5 separate regions of the Homo sapiens genome follow, and regions 1, 3, 4 and 5 are each linked to region 2. The links are contacts of gene promoters, found by promoter capture Hi-C in blood cells and fetal thymus (Javierre and others, 2016). All regions are on one chromosome and are shown on one strand. Each heading gives the region's core, a stretch centred on a gene start or on the middle of the fragment in contact. The rest is flanking DNA. Distances are from core to core; before and after follow the strand shown. Region 1 overlaps MYO10 (myosin X). Region 2 holds the start of ZNF622 (zinc finger protein 622). Region 3 overlaps MYO10 (myosin X). Region 4 overlaps RETREG1 (reticulophagy regulator 1). Region 5 has its middle 21 kb from the start of RETREG1.

Region 1 (2,700 bases), core at 132-2,631, 220 kb after region 2:
CTACTCGGGAGGCTGAGGCAGGAGGATCACCTGAGCCCAGAAGGCCAAGGCTGCAATGAGCCACGATTATTCCACTGCACTCCAGCCTGGGTGACAGAGCAAAACTCTGCCTCACAAAAAAAACAAATACAAAACGAAACAAAACATGTCAACTTAAGAAAAATCAAGCAGAACAAAGCATCAGGAAAATGACTATGAACAGACATGCATCCATCTAGCATTTACTGACCAACTACAAAATGTGAGCGCTATCAAATATGAAAGAGACGCTAGGGTATCCTTCTCCTGCTGGGGGCTTATAAGACACAAAATATATATATACTCCTACTGTTTAAGGCAGAGGGGAAGTACTTGGTATCCAATGGCATGTTTAAGTTAAAAAAATGACACCATATGTAAAGGTAGGCTGTGCAAACGATTTACAGCAAAGCACTAAAATCTATCTCGCGTGCTTCCTAAGGGAGAAAAATGTGACTACAAGCTTGAAAATATTCAACATATACAAGAGATATGCATATCTCTTGTATACAACAAGGAAAACACTTTAATATAAATTTGCACTATCCATTCTGGTTAACCAAACAGCAAGACTTCATTGCTTTGCTCATCTCAAAAATATCCCAAATTAAACATTGAAAAAGACATACATTCAAGTTGTAGGAATCACATACACAAAGGCATCAAATTTGTTGCACTTTCAATTCTGTCTAGATTAGACTCTTAAATTTATAAATTTCTTCTCTTGAATCAAGTATAACTTGGAATCTGAAAAGGAATTTTTTTAAAATAGTGTTCCACTGGTCAGGAGAAAAAGTCCTTGGCTAAAATATTCCAAAGGTTAAATTTAGCAGGTTCATCGTGGCATAAAACAGACAGGGCAGCTGCCAAACGCTGGGCCTATAATTCAGCTGAAAAGCTGCAGGCATTCCCTGGGCCACAAACAACCACATGTGGTCTCCAGGAGTCCCAGACAGAATGATGGGCTATAATTCCAGGTTTGCTTGTTTTTCCAGTTTGTGTTAGAATTTATGGGTCTAAGCAGGTGTTTTAGTTTGTTCCCATGGGAAGAATTATTTTCTGGTGTCTTTACCCTTAATGTTGCTATCATGGTACTGTATCAACTCAGAAAGATTCAAAGGGCAAGGGGTAGTGAGGGGTCCTGAGAACATACTAGAAGGTCCTAATGATCTTGGGGCTGAGAATTGAAGAATTCGGCTATTGGATGTTACCCTCGTAAATTAAAAGACGTTCTCAGCCAGGAAGAGGCTCACGCCTGTAATCCCAGCACTTTGGGAGGCTGAGATGGGCAGATCATCTGAGATCGGGAGTTCGAGACCAGCCTGACCAACATGGAGAAACCCCATCTCTATAAAAAATACAACATTTGCCAGGCGTGGTGGTGCATGCCTGTAATCCCAGCCACTTGGGAGGCTGAGGCAGGAGAATTGCTTGAACCTGGAAGGTGGAGGCTGCGGTGAGCCAAGATTGCACCAGTGCACTCCAGCCTGGGCAACAAGAGAGAAACTCTGTCTCAAAAAAAAAGAAAAAAAAAAAAAAGATGTTCTCTGGCATTGCTCAGACACCTCCAGCATAACCCTGCAGACTCACAAACTCACAAGCTGCAGGAATAGACAGGACAGACGTTCCACGGTGTCAGATCCACAAGGTGACCCTGTGATCCATCACACTGAAGAGCAAATGCTAAGTCTCCTTAATTTTGTGCTATGTCTCCTCAGCACTCCAGCATGGAAACCTGAAGTCCAGGAAGCTACAGACAACTTGCCCCAGCCAATGAAGGCCTCCACCCTCTTCTAATCTCAGTCAAAAGTTAAAGCTCCTTAGGAGCAAATGTTTTTAAGAAGTTCAATGTCTCCATTCAACAGAATTGAGGTTGCACTGCATTACAAATGATACTAACCGTTCTCTGTACCCTAGTCTCTTATTCTGCAAAGTATGGATGATGGTAATAATTAATGTCTACCTTGCAGGATCCAAGAGAATCAAAAGAGTTAATATTTATGAAGCATTTAGAATACTTCCTGAAATACTTAGGTATGAAACATTTAGAATATTAGCCTGAAATATAATTGTGATTACTTTTGCACCAAGCTAATAGTAAGTTCTGTGTAAGTTAGTACCTCTTCCGTTGAATTCTTCAATATTAAGATCTTTAAAACCCCCCAGTGCCATAGCACTATCAGTTACTTAAACAGCCATTAGTTACTGCTCCCTGCCCTTTTTCGTCCTTATGCAAACACAAATGATTCACTTTCAAAGCTCAGAAGCTTCCAGAGGGTAGATTTTCAGCTTCATGCAGCTGTATAATTTACACACGCTACCGGTGACAGTAACAGCCTGAGAGACAGGTGACAATGGATCTGTCTAGTGGCACTGGAGGCTGGAAATCCTGAACTCTGTGCTGTACTTGAACACATTTGCCCAGGGAAAGATTCCCCAAGGGACAAGTGCATCAATCTCGTATGACTCTTGGTTCTTCAAAAAAAGTCAATTAAAATTTTTCAAGGCCAGTACAGTAAACAGTGCTCTGTGTGATGCTCACACCTGTGCATGAGGGAGCAGGATGTGGGTAACACAAAGTCAACAGCGCAGACTCACCTGGCATCTTCTGGGGACTCTGCAATCAGGTGGAAAGTCCTATCGGCCATAATGATGTCGATCCCATTCTCCTTGGTGGTGTTA
Region 2 (2,700 bases), core at 96-2,595:
ATCACCCAGTCTCTAGTACTTCCTTATAGCAGAGTGGACAGACTAAGACATGAACACCTACACCAGCACTGTTAATAGGATGTGGGATGAGGGAAGTAAGGAATAAATAGCTCATAAAGGCAAAGAGGTGAGGGTGCTGGCTCCAGCTCCAAATTTCTGGCTGAGTTGGTTTTGATCCCCTCATTCTGTTTTACTCAACTAAATTAAGTGCAAAACCATCATAACTGGAAACCCACTAGAATCGCAAATTACACGGCAGCTGGTATGACGATAGCATGTCCTCCTGTGCATATGTTAAAAGCCTCTTCATCCAAAACACAGAAGGCATCAATTCATTCTCCAAATATGCATTAAGCACTTCTTTTTCCAGACAAGGTTTTAGGCCTTGGAGAATGAATTGAGTGAACTAAACAGCCAAACCTGCTGGCCAGATAAGGCACTTCAGAAAGCGTCTAAACCACCTTCCCTCATCATTTTTACTTAAAAGCTCTCAAACACACACACACACCCATCTCGAGTATAAATCTGGAAACTTAAGGGTGGGCCAAGTTCCTCTTTACCCTCCCCGCCCAGACAGGGCCATCACCGTCTCCATCCAGGTCCTCTTCCTCCTCCTCGCTGTCCTCCTCCTGCTGCTTTGCCAACTTCTTCGCCTGCTGTTCAAACCACTGGAGCCGGGGTGGTTTCTCACTCGGGTCTCGGTCGTGGGTCCCACGGCCACCAGTACCCACGGCCACGACATTCCTGGCCTCCTTTGCAGGCGCTGGGGGCGCCTTCTTGGGAGACATGGACGGCTGGGCCTTGATGGCCTGCTGGATGGCCGCGTTCATGGCATCCTTGTCCACACTGTCCACGCCCAGTCCTTTCTCCAAGTTCTTTTCATTCATCATCTCCACTTTCCGATTCACTGCCTGCACGGCCTTCTTCTCCAGCTCAACGTGACGCCGGGACTTGAGGTGGTTCTCGTAGGCGTTGAAAGAGGCAAACTTCTTACTGCAAACGGTGCAGTAGGTGGCCGAGCCCTTGCTCTCCTCCTCCGCGACGGCCCGCTGCGCCCGCACTCGCTCCTGGAAGCCCTCGGCGGTCACTGGGGCCATGCTGGCCACCTTCCGCCGCAGGTTGTAGCGGTGCCAGTCCGTCTTATAGTGGGCCCGCTGCATGTCCGCGTCGCGGAACGCCACCCGGCAAGTTATGCAGGTGTACGTCGCCATTGCCAGGCGAGAAATAAGAACCGACCAAGCCAAACACCTGGTGATCAGCGCCGTGGCCCCACAAGACCCTCAGACCTTAACCCGCCTCAGCAGCCAGGAAGAGCCACTCGACACGCCGACTTCCTGATTGTCACTGAGGAAACTTCCGGCACACGTCGGAAGTTATTCACAACTGGACAGGAAACCCGCCTCTCAGGCTGTGGCCACGCCTCCGCCGCCGTGAGGCCCAGGAAGCCGAGGGAACGCTGTGGCTGAAAGGGACCTGGGTCCGCTCAGTCAGCCCGAGGTGGCTGTTGATTGAGGGAGGTCGCGCCCTCCCAGTTACCTTCCCTGGTGGTTGTGCCGCTCGGTGTGACGCGGTCAAGGGGACGGCTACGCGAGAATGGGGGAGTGGGGCGCCCGAGGCTGCTCCTGGGCCCTGGGAAGCCCCCGATTAATGAATGGTCGGGTCAGCGACGCGAGGGTCGGGGTTTCTCTGAGGACCGCGCGCTGCACCTGCGGAGCCGGGTGAATGGATGTCGCGAAGGCAAGGGCTGCCCTTACCCCTCGGGGCCGACCTCGGAGCCCTCGCCCGTGGTTGCAACGCTTTCCCGGGAAACCGGAGAAGCCAGGCCGGGGGCTCGGCCTTTCTGAGGCGGCCCTTCCGGCGGAGGACACCGGCGGAATTTGAGTGCACAGAGTGCGCGAGAGGAGCTCCCTGTAGACACACAGTCCAAGCCACGTAGGTAATTCTAATAGCAGCCACATTTTTAAAGAGTAAAGAGAAATCGGTGAAACTGCTTTTAATGTGTTTAATTTAGCCCATCCTGTCATTTCAGCATGTAATCAGTCTAAAAGAATTAATTAGATCTTTTACGCTCTGTCGTTGGTTCTAAGTCTTGGAAATCCAGTGTGTGTTTTAGAGTTAACAGCCCATCTCAATTTGGACTAGACCCGTGCCAGGTGCCCAGTTGGCTGTGTACCCTCATGTATATAGGACAGCAAAGTTCTGTAGAAAAGAACTTCAGGCCAGGCGCGGTGGCTCACGCCCGTAATCCCAGCACTTTGCGAGGCCGAGGCGGGCGGATCATCTGAGGTCAGGGGTTCAAGACCAGCCTGGCCAACATGGCGAAACCCAGTCTCTGCTAAAAAATACAAAAATTAGTCCCGGCGCAGTGGCGCAGACCTGTAATCCCAGCTACTTGGGAGGTTGAGGCAGGAGAATCGCTTGAACCCGGGAGGCGGAGGTTGTGGTGAGCCGAGATCGCGCCACTGCACTCCAGCCTGGGCAACAGAGCAAGATTCCATCTCAAAAGAAAAAGAAAACATGAACTTCAAATGCTTGGGGAGGTCGTAGATTTCATCCACACAGCCTGGTTGAACCAGAGTCAGCCTTGTTAGAGTCGAATGTTGCATGCTCAGAATCCAGGCTGCCAAGAGAAAACCAAAAGAAGATGGCGCTTTAAAAAACCTTCCAGTGCCTTCCCTTGACTCAATCAAATTCAAACAC
Region 3 (2,784 bases), core at 182-2,681, 240 kb after region 2:
CCTGGGAGGCAGAGGTTGCAGTGAGCCAAGATCATGCTGCTGCACTCCAGCCTGGGCAACAGAGTGAGATTCTGTCTCAAAGCAACATATATACATATATATACACACACGTACATACTCATATATATACACACTCATATATATACACATATACTCATATATACACATATATATTCACATATACATATACATGAGAATATATATATACACACACACACACTCTGTTGGTGCAGAAGCTACAAGTGTAAAGTTTGTTGGATGTAATCATCATTAAAGATGTTCAGAAATACAGAATTCCCTGTACATATCAAAATCACGTAGCAAAAGCAGTTTTCATCAAGACTGGACTTTTAAGGAAGCATTTCAACTTCTCTGAGATTTTTGTTTGGTATTACATATCTTACTCTAATGCTTTTGCTCTTATGAGTGCTTAAAAGGAAAAATAACAGCCAAATCTTGGGGAAGGGGGTGGTGGTGACGAAAGAGACAAAAGTGTCAACTCTCATGAGTGACACAGCGATGACGTGAACAAGTGGAAACCTTTGTGAAGGAACAAAGGTCTTCTCCACCATTGGAAGTCAAAAGAATGTCTTGGTTAGAATCAGAATCAGACAAATACTTGCTTTAGTTTTCAGTCCATTAAAAAGACAGCTCTCAAAATAAATAAATAAATATGTTTTTAAAAAGCATTCTTCCACATCTTTATTTACATTCTCCTTCACCAACCTAAAGGGCAAACAAATAGAGAAAATGCTTTTAGGGACCTGTCAGTTTCATTAAGAACACGAACCCTGAATTAGACAATGACAGAAGGAAAGTGATAGGTTTGGCTGTGTCCCCACTCAAATCTCATCTTGAATTGTAGCTCCCATAATTCCTATGTGTCATGGGAGGGACCTGGTAGGAGGTAATTGGATCATGGGCGCAGGTCTTTCCCATGCTGTTCTCACGACAGTGAATAAGTCTCATGGGATCTGATAGTTTTAAAAAGGGGAGTTGCCCTGCACATGCTCTCTTGCCTGTTGCCATGTAGGATGTGCCTTTACTCTTCCTTCATCTTCTGCCATGATCATGAGGCCTCCCCAGCCATGTGGAACTGTGAGTCCATTAAACCTCTTTCTTTTATAAATTACCCAGTCTCGGGTATGTCTTTATTAGCAGTGTGAGAACAGACTAATACAGAAAGTGTTTCTGTGAGCCCTTGTGTCACTTTGCCATGTTCCCAGGACTCAGCCAAGACCAAGTTGGCACAACCTAGTGACTGGGAATGTGGCATCAAAGCAGGCACCAAAGCAGCTGAGCAAAGGGTGGTACCCACTCAGGCGCTGCTTGGCTGAACTTGACTCAATATCCAACAGGAACCATTTCACGTGGTTCTTTTTCACTTTTATCTTCTTAGGTAGCTTAAGATCCTGTGGGTTATTCTAGTACACTGTCTTTATAAAAATACCTCCTGCATGCTTCATTGCCACAGAACTGAGGAAGAAAAGTCTGACACTGAAGTCCAGAGGGTCAGAAAAGTAAAAGTCTTGAGTCTTCAGGAATCCTTGAGGCAGTGGGAAAAGCCAAAACCAGGAAGGAGAGGGACCAGCTGCCCACCTCAGTCACCGTAAACGCAGCTGTTCAGCAGGGAAATACATTGCAATCTCCTCCCCACGGGCTGTGCCGTGAAGCATCCGACAGGCCGCTTCAATTCCTAGTAATGCTTCTCCAGTCCTCTAGGTAAGAATGCTTGCCTTACAAGAACAAATATGTTTTGGATAAGTCAGCCAGTTCAGACCTGGAGCCATGTCTAATTCGCTGCCTTCGACACTGGCTAAACTTGCCTGTTGTGTACGGCAGACATTCCTTTACCAGAAGACCAGAAGTTCATTAGAGGTTTGAGGCTTTAAACAGAAAGACCTTCTGGTGGCAACACACCAAAACACCTGCTATCCAACATGTAACTCAAACACTGGTCAAGATCAAAGCTATCAAGAAGCCACAATTCAAATGCTTTGATGTTTGCATTTACTTCCTAACATGTCTGTGGAAAAATAAACTTCCATCCAACTTCTACTCCCAACTTTTCACCAATTAAAACTGAACTCCTCTTTAAAAACTTCTTCATCTTGAATACTTCCTTGATCATTTCAATCCATAGGGATCTCTCTCCTGAAGAAGCTGTTTCCTTACTCCTTTAAAAAGATTGTACTGCATGATTTAATTCATCCACTGTGTGTGAATATCTTATCTTCCAACACAGTAAACTGAGGACAACGCCCATGTCTCTGTGTCCCCTATGCTACACTACGTCCCAAGCCTGCCTTGGGCCTGATTTCCATAATGTAAATTCTAAGTGAAGCTGGATTAGTACTTGGAGCCCAGAAAAGACTGTTAATGGCTGGGTTGAGTTTTAATGATCTCTAATGTTACTCCACTGTAGAAGGCAGTGAGGTGACTCGTTTATAGAGAATGCAATTTCTTTTTGTTTTTGAGACAAGGTTTCACTCTGTCGCCCAGGTTGGAGTGCAGTGGCATGATCAGGGCTCACTGCAGTCTTGACCTCCTGGGTTCGAGCAATCCTCCCACTCTAGCCACGCGAGTAGCTGGGACTATAGGCACATGCCACCACGCCTGGCTAATTTTTCTGAATTTCAGTAGAGAAAAGGTCTCACTATGTTTTCCAGGCTGGTCTCAGACTCCTGGGCTCAAGCGATCCTTCTGCCTCAGCCTCCCAAAGTGCTGGAATTACAAATGTGAGCCACTGTGCCTGGCTTGCAATTTCTTTTTGATTAAACAAAA
Region 4 (2,700 bases), core at 195-2,694, 140 kb after region 2:
TATATTTGTTTATTGTATTTTTTTTTACCACTTTCACCACTAGAATATAAGCTCTGGGAGAACAGGGATCTCACCTGTTTGTCCGCTGTTATATCCCCCGCACCAAGAACAGTGTCAGCATATAGCACACACTCAGGAAATATTTGTCATATTTTGGCCAGGCGTGGTGGCTCGGCTGGCCAAGATGGGCAGATCACCTGAGGCCAGGAGTTCAAGATTATCCCGGCCAACATGGTAAAACCCTGTCTCTACTAAAAATACAAAAATTAGCTGGGTGTGGTGGCAGGTGCCTGTAATCCCAGCTACTTGGGAGGCTGAGGCAGGAGAATCGCTTGAACCCAGGAGGCGGAGACTGCAGTGAGCCAAGATCACACCACTGCACTCCAGCCTGGAAGACAGAGCAACACTCTGTCTCAATTTAAAAAAACAAAAAAAGAAATACTTGTTGTATATTTTAATGGAGGTCCTGAAAGAAAGGGAGGAATATTATGGTATTAATATTAGGGTAATAGATGGGTATTGCTTATTTCATGTCATCCAAATTCCTTAGCATGGTCCAATAGTAACCTCTTCAAAACCTGGCCCCACCCTTTGAATTTGCAGCCTCACCTCTGGGTATTCCCCCTAGCAAGCACATAAATCTCCCCTCCCCTCCCCTCCCCTCCACTCTCACTGTTTTTATTTTTTATTTATTTTTTTGAGACAGAGTCTCACTCTGTCGTCCAGGCTGGAGTGGGGTGGCGTGATCTCAGCTCACTGCAACCTCTACCTCCCGAAATCAAGTGAATCTCCTGCCCCAGCCTCCCAAGTAACTGGGATTACAGGCGCATGCCACCATGCCCAGCTAATTTTTGTATTTTTAATAGAGATGGAGTTTCACCATGTTGGCCAGGCTGGTCTTGAACTCCTGACCTCAGGTGATATGCCCACCTCAGCCTCTCAAAGTGCTGAGATTACAATTGTGAGCCACCGTGCCCGGCCCACTCTCACTGTCTTTAAATAGCCCCACCTTATTCACCATAGGGGAATATCCTCTAGTCCAGCTCATTTCACCAAACCTTTTTTAACATCTACAGTGTTTCAGATCTCATGTGGATCCGGCAACCCAAGATTAATTATCTGTCCCCAAAACAGACCCTCAGTGTGAGTCAGGAGAGTCTCTCCATCCTGACAACATCCAGTGCTCATCTCCCATTTCTTCCTGAGTTTGTCCTACATGGAAATCGCTCACCATTAACCTCACTTTTAAAACTATACCTTTTCTTCTGGGCTTATACAATAAATCTCACAAGACTTTCATCAGCTATTCCAAACCTCCCTCATCCCCACTTTGTCCTCAACTGTAAAGCCCTGGAGACCATGACATGCAATTTGGAACTGTGACATACTCTCTCAATCGATTCACCAAATCAGCTGTGTCTCCTAAACCAGTGGGTAGGCTCTCTGAGTTCAGGCACTGGGCTTCTGGTATACCCCCTGGGCCCAGGTATACCCCCTTGACCACACTGGGTAGGGAGCAGACACTCATTCACAGGTACCGACTACTCAGACGGAACAAAGATAAGGCGAGGAACTTGGACCAGGCTGGCTGACAGTCTAAAAAGATCCTTCCCATTCATGCAGAAGCAACCCTCTCCCAATATAATTTTTTCACTCTGTGCTGAAATCATTAAGTATGATTCTGTAATATTGAAAAAAGTAAGCCCTAATAGTCTCCTATTTTTCTTTAGAGAGATGGGGTAGAAAAATCATTGAATTTAGGGAAAATGGACGCTGCTTCATTACCCAGCTTCAGCACTTATCTAAGACTATGCTAACACAGCAGCTACTAGCCTTGTGTGGCTATTTAAACTTACACTTAAATAAAAGTCAAATGGCATTCCGAGTCCCACTAGCCACACTTCACATGCTCAACAGCCACAGGAAGCTACCATAACAGGCAGTGCAAAGGCAGACTATGTCCATCACTACAAACATTCTATTGAACAGTACCGGTCAACGTCATCTTTGGTGTTCAGTTAACTTTTTTCTGGGCCTCCTGTTTCCTCCTGTGTAAAATGGGAACAACACATGCCTCACTGGGTTCCTGCAAGGTTTAAATACGATGCTACATGTGAACACCCTTTATCATAACTTTAGTAAAGTTTGACTTTACTGAAGTCTGTAACTGTATATAACTGTAACTGTATATAACTATACATATAGCCATACTTTGACAAAGCACTAAATGATATATATTTACTTATTTTTAAGAGTCTAACAACCAGCGATAGTAGCATCTGTAAAAGGGAGTTATTGTCAACTGTAGTAAAGAAATTCTATCTCAGGCTGTGAGGCTAGAAGGACGCCATCCAGGAGGAAGGGAGAGAGTATGCAGCGGCCAGGCCACCTAAGGAATGCTGCATTCCAGGCAGAATACAGATGAACTGAAGCCCGGCCAGAAGGATCTGCAAACGAGACAGGACAGCGGTGAGTGGAAGGGCCCAGGATTTCTCAGCCGGGGAAGAGAAGACTCAGTGGGAACCAAGAAGAGAATGGATTTTGAAACACACAAAGGGCGATCCTGGGGAGGGGCCTACATCCTGGGCAGCTGCGGAGACAATCAAGCAATGGCCTTCATGTAAGGAAAACACTGACCAGTGAGTGCCGCCCAGCAATGGAAATGCTGCCTTATGGAGAAGACAGCTCACAATTCCAGAA
Region 5 (2,700 bases), core at 145-2,644, 170 kb after region 2:
GTCTCATTGATCTGTCTAATGTTGACAGTGGGGTGTTAAAGTCTCCCATTATTATTGTGTGGGAGTCTAAGTCTCTTTCTAGGTCTCTAAGGACTTGCTTTATGAATCTGGGTGCCCCCGTATTGGGTGCATATATATTTAGGATAGTTAGCTCTTCTTGTTGAATTGATCCCTTGACCATTATATAATGGCCTTCTTTGTCTCTTTTGATCTTTGTTGGTTTAAAGTATGTTTTATCAGAGACTAGGATTGCAACCCCTGCCTTTTTTTTGTTTTCCATTTGCTTGGTAGATCTTCCTCCATCCCTTTATTTTGAGCCTGTGTGTGTTTCTGCACGTGAGATGGGTTTCCTGAATACAGCACACTGATGGGTCTTGACTCTTTATCCAATTTGCCAGTCTGTGTCTTTTAATTGGAGCATTTAGCCCATTTACATTTAAGGTTAATATTGTTATGTGTGAATTTGTTCCTGTCATTATGATGTTAGCTGGTTATTTTGCTCATTAGTTGATGCAGTTTCTTCCCAGCCTTGATGGTCTTTACAATTTGGCATGTTTTTGCTGTGGCTGGTACTGGTTGTTCCTTTCCATGTTTAGTGCTTCCTTCAGGAGCTCTTTTAGGGCAGGCCTGGTGGTGACAAAATCTCTCAGCATTTGCTTGTCTGTAAAGTATTTTATTTCTCCTTCACTTATGAAGCTCAGTTTGGCTGGATATGAAATTCTGGGTTGAAAATTCTTTAAGAATATTGAATATTGGTCCCCACTCTCTTCTGGCTTGTAGAGTTTCTGCAGAGAGATCAGCTGTTAGTCTGATGGTCTTCCCTTTGTGGGTAACCCGACCTTTCTCTCTGGCTGCCCTTAACATTTTTTCCTTCATTTCAACTTTGGTGAATCTGATAATTATGTGTCTTGGAGTTGCTCTTCTCGACGAGTATCTTTGTGGTGTTCTCTGTATTTCCTGAATTTGAATGTTGGCCTACCTTGCTAGATTGGGGAAGTTCTCCTAGATAATATCCTGCAGAGTGTTTTCCAACTTGGTTCCATTCTCCCAGTCACTTTCAGGTACACCAATCAGACGTAGATTTAGTCTTTTCACATAGTCCCATATTTCTTGGAGGCTTTGTTCATTTCTTTTTATTCTTTAAACTTCTCTTCTCGCTTCATTTCATTCATTTGATCTTCCATCACTGATACCCTTTCTTCCAGTTGATCACATCGGCTACTGAGGCTTGTGCGTTTGTCACATAGTTTTCTTGCCTTGGTTTTCAGCTCCATCAGGTCCTTTAAGGACTTCCCTGCATTGGTTATTCTAGTTAGCCATTTGTCTAATTTTTTTCCAGGTTTTTCAATTATTTGCCGTGGGTTCGAACTTCTTCCTTTAGCTCAGAGTAGTTTGATCGTCTGAAGCCTTCTTCTCTCAACTTGTCAAAGTCATTCGCCATCCAGCTTTGTTCCATTGCTGGTGAGGAGCTGTGTTCCTTTGGAGGAGGAGAGGTGCTCTGATTTTTAGAGTTTCCAGTTTTTCTGCTCTGCTTTTTCCCCCCATCTTTGTGGTTTTATCTACCTTTGGTCTTTGATGATGGTGATGTACAGATGGGGTTTTGGTGTGGATGTCCTTTCTGTTTGTTAGTTTTCCTTCTAACAGTCAGGACCCTCAGCTGCAGGTCTGTTGGAGTTTGCTGGAGGTCCACTCCAGACCCTGTTTGCCTGGGTATCGGCAGCAGAGGCTGCAGAACAGCGGATATTGGTGAACAGCAAATGTTGCTGCCTTATTGTTCCTCTGGAAGTTTTGTCTCAGAGGAGTACCCGGCTGTGTGAGGTGTCAGTCTGCCCCTACTGGGGTGTGCCTCCCAGTTAGGCTACTCGGGGATCAGGGACCCACTTGAGGAGGCAGTCTGCCCGTTCTCAGATCTCCAGCTGTGTGCTGGGAGAACCACTGTTCTCTTCAAAACTGTCAGACAGGGACATTTAAGTCTGCAGAGGATTCTGCTGCCTTTTGTTTGGCTATACCCTGCCCCCAGAAGTGGATCCTACAGAGGCAGGCAGGCCTCCTTGAGCTATGGTGGGCTCCACCCAGTTCGAGCTTCATGGCCACTTTGTTTACCTACTCAAGCCTGGGCAATGGCGGGCGCCCCTCCGCCAGTCTCGCTGCCACCTTGCAGTTTGATCTCAGACTGCTGTGCTAGCAATGAGCAAGGCTCTGTGGGCGTAGGACCCTCCGAGCCATGCGCAGGATATAATCTCCTGGTGTGCCGTTTGCTAAGACTGTTGGAAAAGCGCTGTATTAGGGTGGGAGTGACCTGATTTTCCAGGTGCTGTCACCCCTTTCTTTGACTAGGAAAGGGAATTCCCTGACCCCTTGAGCTTTCCGGGTGAGGCGATGTCTTGCCCTGCTTCGGCTCACATGCGGTGTGCTGCACCCACTGTCCTGCACCCACTTTCTGACACTCCCCAGTGAGATGAACCCAGTAACTCAGTTGGAAATGCAGAAATCACCCGTCTTCTGCGTTGCTCGCACTGGGAGCTGTAGACTGGAGGTGTTCCTATTTGGCCACCTTGGCTCCACCCTCAGGGAAGTGACTTTTAAGCAGACACTTAAATGAAGTAAGGCAGCCAGTAATGTGAAATTCTGCAGGCAAGCCAATGCTAGACAGTGAACAGCAGGGGTGAGGATTGTGAAGCCAGAACCAGCTTGAAATGC

What was found. The method cuts DNA at HindIII sites, captures the fragments that hold promoters and counts their contacts. A CHiCAGO score of 5 or more calls a contact.
Region 1: a fragment that was not itself captured here is called in contact with the fragment with the promoter of ZNF622 in region 2 in 7 of 17 cell types (non-activated CD4 T cells, naive CD4 T cells, naive CD8 T cells and 4 more); the score reaches 11.6 in non-activated CD4 T cells.
Region 3: a fragment that was not itself captured here is called in contact with the fragment with the promoter of ZNF622 in region 2 in 2 of 17 cell types (non-activated CD4 T cells and naive CD4 T cells); the score reaches 8.1 in non-activated CD4 T cells.
Region 4: a fragment that was not itself captured here is called in contact with the fragment with the promoter of ZNF622 in region 2 in 5 of 17 cell types (non-activated CD4 T cells, activated CD4 T cells, naive CD4 T cells and 2 more); the score reaches 6.4 in non-activated CD4 T cells.
Region 5: a contact is called between a fragment that was not itself captured here and the fragment with the promoter of ZNF622 in region 2, in 2 of 17 cell types (non-activated CD4 T cells and naive CD4 T cells). The highest score is 6.3, in non-activated CD4 T cells.

The regions. Positions count from the first base shown.
Region 1 is chr5:16,687,208-16,689,907 of GRCh38, forward strand. MYO10 (myosin X) reads right to left here. Exons shown (of 41, transcript NM_012334.3): 28 at 2,617-2,700. Among named protein-coding and RNA genes, the nearest start is that of RETREG1, 72 kb to the left of the region's middle. The HindIII fragment of the contact is 1,804 bases long and covers 480-2,283 here.
Region 2 is chr5:16,464,455-16,467,154 of GRCh38, forward strand. It overlaps ZNF622 (zinc finger protein 622), which reads right to left and starts at 1,346. Exons shown (of 6, transcript NM_033414.3): 1 at 587-1,346. The coding sequence starts at 1,211. RefSeq lists an enhancer at 654-723 and a silencer at 2,531-2,700. The HindIII fragment of the contact is 4,211 bases long and covers 1-2,700 here.
Region 3 is chr5:16,706,105-16,708,888 of GRCh38, forward strand. The region is part of intron 21 of MYO10 (myosin X); the gene reads right to left. Among named protein-coding and RNA genes, the nearest start is that of RETREG1, 90 kb to the left of the region's middle. The HindIII fragment of the contact is 5,096 bases long and covers 1-2,784 here.
Region 4 is chr5:16,607,199-16,609,898 of GRCh38, forward strand. All of the region lies in intron 1 of RETREG1 (reticulophagy regulator 1), which reads right to left. Among named protein-coding and RNA genes, the nearest start is that of RETREG1-AS1, 7.4 kb to the right of the region's middle. The HindIII fragment of the contact is 6,956 bases long and covers 1-2,700 here.
Region 5 is chr5:16,636,185-16,638,884 of GRCh38, forward strand. No RefSeq gene overlaps it. Among named protein-coding and RNA genes, the nearest start is that of RETREG1, 21 kb to the left of the region's middle. The HindIII fragment of the contact is 5,203 bases long and covers 1-2,700 here.